2 separate regions of the Homo sapiens genome follow, and region 2 is linked to region 1. Evidence: promoter capture Hi-C in 16 types of primary human blood cells and fetal thymus (Javierre and others, 2016). All regions are on one chromosome and are shown on one strand. Each heading gives the region's core, a stretch centred on a gene start or on the middle of the fragment in contact. The rest is flanking DNA. Distances are from core to core; before and after follow the strand shown. Region 1 holds the start of CPLX3 (complexin 3). Region 2 overlaps COX5A (cytochrome c oxidase subunit 5A).

Region 1 (2,700 bases), core at 1-2,500:
GGTGCAGTGAGTGTAGCAAGGCAAGCATGAGAGTCCTGGTTTTTCAAAAGCCCATAAAGGAGAGACGCAAGTAACCTGTAACCTTCTCTCTGGCAGCAGGCAGGAGCTGAACAAGAGCCTTCAGGAGTGTCTGTCCACAGGCAGCCTTCCTCTGGGTCCTGCACCACACACCCCCAGGGCCCTGGGGATTCTGAGGAGGCAGCCTCTCCCTGCCAGCATGCCTGCCTGACCCACCTCAGAGCCTGCTTTGCATCACTGGGAAGCAGGCAGTGTCTTGGGTGGGGGCTTGGTCAGTATCCTCTCCGTCTGGGTGCCCAGCTCCCACGCACACCTGAGCTTTCGGCATGCTCCCACCTCGTTAAAGGTGATTTCCCTCTCCCCATGCTGTGATATGCTGGTCTTCTTTCCAGCCTCACCCTAATCTCTGTGAAGGCTTCCACCCCTTCTGAGTACCTGGCTGGGAGTGCGCTCCAAGCAGGCAAGGAGGCCAAGGCCTGGCTTAACCTCCAAAAGACCGGATACCCCACGGGCTTTGAACCCTCGACTATGGAGGGAAAGAGAGCCATGACTGTATATAATTCTGTCCTCAAACTCACCCATAACAGAGAGCAGTGTCTCCCAGTGTCCCTCCTGGCCCAGCTCAGCCAGCATCACTGAGCAGCTCTCTCCCTCCCCACTCCTAGCTGCTCCAGGGGCAGCAGGGGAGGCGCGTGACAGAGCAACCCTGAGAGGCCAACTCGTGGAACCATAACTGGGATTCCCGCTCGCGCCCTCAGGTCTCCCTCCCTTTTCCAGCGTCAAGCTCTCTGGGCAGCTGCTGGGTTCAGTGACTTGGGTGGGTGGGGAGAATGGGGGGCACCCAAGGCTGGGTTTTTACCCCTTGCTGCTACCTGGATCTCCCAGCTGAAATCCTAGTTATTAGTGGCCCAGGAGAGGAGAAAGTTGGAAGAGGCTATGGAACAGGGTTCCGGGAGTGTATGAGCTCAACCCCTCTCCCGGGAGAGCGACCCCACCACCGCAGGCCCTAATCCTCTGTCAGCAGTGCCCAGCGGAGCTCGGCGTTGAAGGAGGCACGTGGGGGAGGCGGGAGTGGGGAGCGGGCACGTGGTCCAGCCTTCTCAGCCCCGTGCTGCCCCCCGCCCCCAGTGAGGAGGGGTTTGGGGAGGTGGGGGCGGGCCCGGGCGGGGGCGGGCGGCGGGCGGTGCCAAGCGTGGGGCGCGGGCCCGCGGCGGGAGCTGTCCGCGAAACCTAGTGCTGAAGTAGGCGCGGACGTGCCCGGTGCCTGGCGCGTGGTAGCAGGCGCCCGGTGCCCCGGCCGGCGAAGACCATGGCGTTCATGGTGAAGACCATGGTGGGCGGCCAGCTGAAGAACCTCACTGGGAGCCTGGGAGGCGGCGAGGATAAGGGAGATGGGGACAAGTCGGCAGCCGAAGCTCAGGGCATGAGCCGGGAGGAGTACGAGGAGTATCAGAAGCAACTCGTGGAAGAGAAGTGAGTGGGATCCCTTCCTGGCTCCAACGACCTCCCCTCCCCACCCCCACAGCTGCTCAGTCCATCCCCGGGCCAGCCTCAGGTCCCAATCCCTTCTCCCCTACTTTCCTAGACACGGTAAGAGACCGGGAGGTGTCCTCTACACTGCCCCCAGACCCATCCTATCTGACACCCAAAACCCCGCTCCAGCATCATGCTCCGGCCAAGGGGGAGTGGGGGGAGGGGCGACCGGACGAGGGACCGACCGGAGCCTGGGACGAGGAAGGGGGTGCACGTGCGTTTCTGACGAAACGATAATCCCTTAATCCGATCTGGTCCCAGCCGCCTATGTCTTCCAACTGGGGCTCCTCTGAACTTGAGGCTCTGAAAAAAGTGGTGCAGCCGCTCAGAGTCGCGGAGACAGACCCTGAGATGGGGGCACTCACAAACATTGAGCACTTGTGTGCCCGCAGTGCTGGGACAGAGTTTGGGGCTGGACTCTGCTGCTAGGCTACTTGGGTTCAGAGCCTGGCTTTGCCTATTAGCTGGATAACTTTAGGCAAGTTACTTAACCTTTCTGTGCCTCTGTTTCCTTTTCTGGAAAGTGGGGATGGTAATCATAATACATGCCTTGTATATTTATGAAGATTAAATGCCAATGCATGTAAACTGTTTAGCACAGCACCTGGCACATGATAAAGTCTCATAAATGATAGCTATTATTTCGCTCAATCCTGATAACAGTTTTGTGAGTTGCAAAATTTTATCCCCATTTTACAGAAGAGGAAGGTAAGTGACTTACCTAAGGATATACCTAAAATGGTAGTGGAGCTGGGATGTGAACCCAAGTTTGGCCTGAATACTTTTCCCCACATGACATAGCTTGTCAGTGAGGGAACAGCAGACCAAGTTGGAGGCCATGAGGGACAAATAATTAGGATCTGCAGAGAGAGCCAGACAGACTGCCACCCTGGTTCCCTAGTTCCATCCAGTGGCAGAGACGACAAAGGGCACTGTGATGGGCAGAGGCAGCAGAAACCTGGATGTCCGGGTTGGAGCGCTTTTGCTACACACAGGGACCAATGCAGCAGCTGCTAGGACTCAGAGACCCCTTCTGTCCCTCCCTCGAAGACCTCAACCCCCTTCTCTCAGCCCTCGTGGTGACTCTGCCTCCGGTGACCCTGCAGGATGGAGCGGGATGCACAGTTCACACAGAGGAAGGCAGAGCGG
Region 2 (2,700 bases), core at 133-2,632, 110 kb after region 1:
TGTCAAATGGACACTGAATTGAGTTTGGAAATCTGAATTCCTTCTGAACAGCCTCTGGAACAGGTAGGGGGATAGGCGGAGGCAGAAAATTTTATCTTTGGGTATTGAATGCAGCACAACCTAGCACTCAGATACCTCTAGGCTCTTCGCTCTCTCTGTTTGACCCTGGAAAATTAACTTAAGTTTATTTTCCTTATCTGTAAAATGGGGACGCTACCCCCCTTAGCAGATTATGAAGATTAAATGTGAAAACAGGTAGGTTAACACTATGCACTGGTAAGTATTAAACAAATGGTAGCTATAAACTAACCCTTATCTAAAAACGTCTTAGTTGTCTATTTATAGAAATCATAACTTAAAGAAATGAAACCTATCTCAAATCACATTTCCTACTACCTGTATTAGATAAGTGTGGTGTAACTTCCAGTTGTTTAAGGCTTAACATATTTTTATTTATTTACTTTTAGAGATGGGGGTCTTGATATGTTGCCCAGGGTGGTCTTAAACTCCTAGCCTCAAGCAATCCTACCACTCCCAAAATACTAGAATTACAGGTGTGAGCCACCATGCCCAGCCTTAACATACATATATATATATTTTTAAAAACTTCACCCAGAAACCTCTCAACATTGTTGTTCTAAGAACACTGAAATTTAAACATTAGTAATATCCTATATATCTTTAATGCAGTAACTGGCAGGAGGAAGAGTAGCAAAAAAACGAAGCAGAAAAGATCTTCCCAGAGACCTAAATTACCTACATAATCCAAGCCCAGAATGAAGTGGAACATGTACATAAATGGACTAGAAGTGAACACGTTTTAATTTCTTTTTTTTTTTTTTTGAGACAGAGTCTCACCCTGTCGCCCAGGCTGGAGTGCAATGGCACGATTTCGGCTCACTGCAACCTCCACCTCCCGGGTTCAAGTGATTCTCCTGCCTTAGCCTCCCAAGTAGCTGGGATTACAGGCATGCGCCACCATGTCAGGCTAATTTTTTGTATCTTTAGTAGACACAAAGTTTCACCATGTTAGTCAGGCTGGTCTCGAACTCTTGACCTCATGATCTGCCTGCCTCGGCCTCCCAAAGTGCTGGGATAACAGGCATGAGCCACGGTGCCCAGCCTTAATTTCTACAACAAGAAAAAAATGGATCTCTACACCTAAATATGTCTGGTAAGTATGAACATTTAATCAAAACTACGTGGATATTTAATAAGTCTTACAAGACTAATATTCAAATTTAATATATCAGAAAACAAGGCCAGGTGCGGTGGCTCACACCTGTAATCCCAGCACTTTGGGAGGCTGAGGCAGGCAGATCACTTGAGGCCAGGAGTTCAAGACCAGCCTGGCCAACATGGTGAAACCCTGTCTCTACTAAAATACAAAAAATTAGCCAGGCGTGGTGGCACACCCCTGTAGTCCCAGCTACTTGGAATGCTGAAGGAGGAGAATAGCTTGAACCCAGGGAGGTTGCAGTGAGCCAAGATCGTGCCACTGCATTCCAGCCTGGGCGACAGAGCAAGACTCCGTCTCAAAAAAAAAAATATCTATCTATCTATCTATCTATCTATCTATCTATCTATCTATCTATGTAAAAACATAGATTAGAACAACCATCTAATGCACTATTATCAAGAACTTAGGGCCAGATGCAGTGGCACTAGCCTCGGAGACAGAGTGAGACCCTGTCTCAAAAAAGAAAAAATTATAAGCCACCTCTTCAAAAACTAAAGCTAGCCTTAACTGAATACTGAAAGTGCAAGTATAAAATGATACAATCACTTTGGAAGACGGTTTAAGCAGTTTCTTATCAAGTTAAACACAAACCTACCATATAACACAGTAATTCCACTCCTAAGTATTTACCCAATGAAAGGTCTATGTACTCCTTCCCCAGAGGTAATTACCTGTCCCATCCACAACAGTGCTTCATGATAAGCAATTCGTTTTGTTCACTGCTGGGCATGGATTTGACTACATGAGTGCTAGGCTTTGTTTCCTAACTGTGAATAAGATGACCACCAACAGCAAATCCAAGTCAAGGAGATCACCACCTTCAAGGATTTGATCATATGTCTTCTGGAAGCCAAATTACAAACTGGTTGTATTCCAAAAAGTCTTTTATAAAACAGAACTAGAACTTTGAGAGGCCAAGGCAGGATCGCTTGATGCCAGGACTGAGAGACCAGCTTGGGCAACAAAGACAGACCTCCATTCTCCACAAAAAACTTAAAAAATTAGCGGGGTTTGGTGGTCCCAGCTACTCAGGAGGCTGAGGCGGGAGGATCCCTTGAGCCCAGGGCAACAAGGCTGCAGTGAGCTATGACTGCGCCACTGCACTCTAGCCTAGGTGATAGAGCAACACTCTATATCAAACAAATTAAAATAAATAAAAATTTAAAAACCCATACATCCCTTTCTGAAGGGCTAAAACAGACTCTCCCCACGTGATTTAAATTTTTTTTTTTTTTTTGAGATGGAGTCTCACTCTGTCGCCCAGGCGGGAGTGCAGTGGCGCAATCTCAGCTCACTGCAAGCTCCGCCTCCCAGGTTCACGCCATTCTCCTATCTCAGCCTTCCCAGCAGCTGGGACTACAGGCACTCGCCACCACGCCCGGCTAATTTTTTTGTATTTTTAGTAGAGACGGGGTTTCACCGCGTTAGCCAGGATGGTCTCGATCTCCTGACATTGTGAT

What was found. The method cuts DNA at HindIII sites, captures the fragments that hold promoters and counts their contacts. A CHiCAGO score of 5 or more calls a contact.
Region 2: a fragment that was not itself captured here is called in contact with the fragment with the promoter of CPLX3 in region 1 in 1 of 17 cell types (megakaryocytes); the score reaches 5.6 in megakaryocytes.

The regions. Positions count from the first base shown.
Region 1 is chr15:74,825,377-74,828,076 of GRCh38, forward strand. It overlaps CPLX3 (complexin 3), which reads left to right and starts at 1,251. Exons shown (of 3, transcript NM_001030005.3): 1 at 1,251-1,491; 2 at 2,658-2,700. The coding sequence starts at 1,328. It overlaps LMAN1L (lectin, mannose binding 1 like), which reads left to right. Exons shown (of 14, transcript NM_021819.3): 14 at 100-378. The coding sequence ends at 229. RefSeq lists a silencer at 1,233-1,440. The HindIII fragment of the contact is 16,039 bases long and covers 1-2,700 here.
Region 2 is chr15:74,931,872-74,934,571 of GRCh38, forward strand. All of the region lies in intron 1 of COX5A (cytochrome c oxidase subunit 5A), which reads right to left. Among named protein-coding and RNA genes, the nearest start is that of COX5A, 4.9 kb to the right of the region's middle. The HindIII fragment of the contact is 3,088 bases long and covers 1-2,700 here.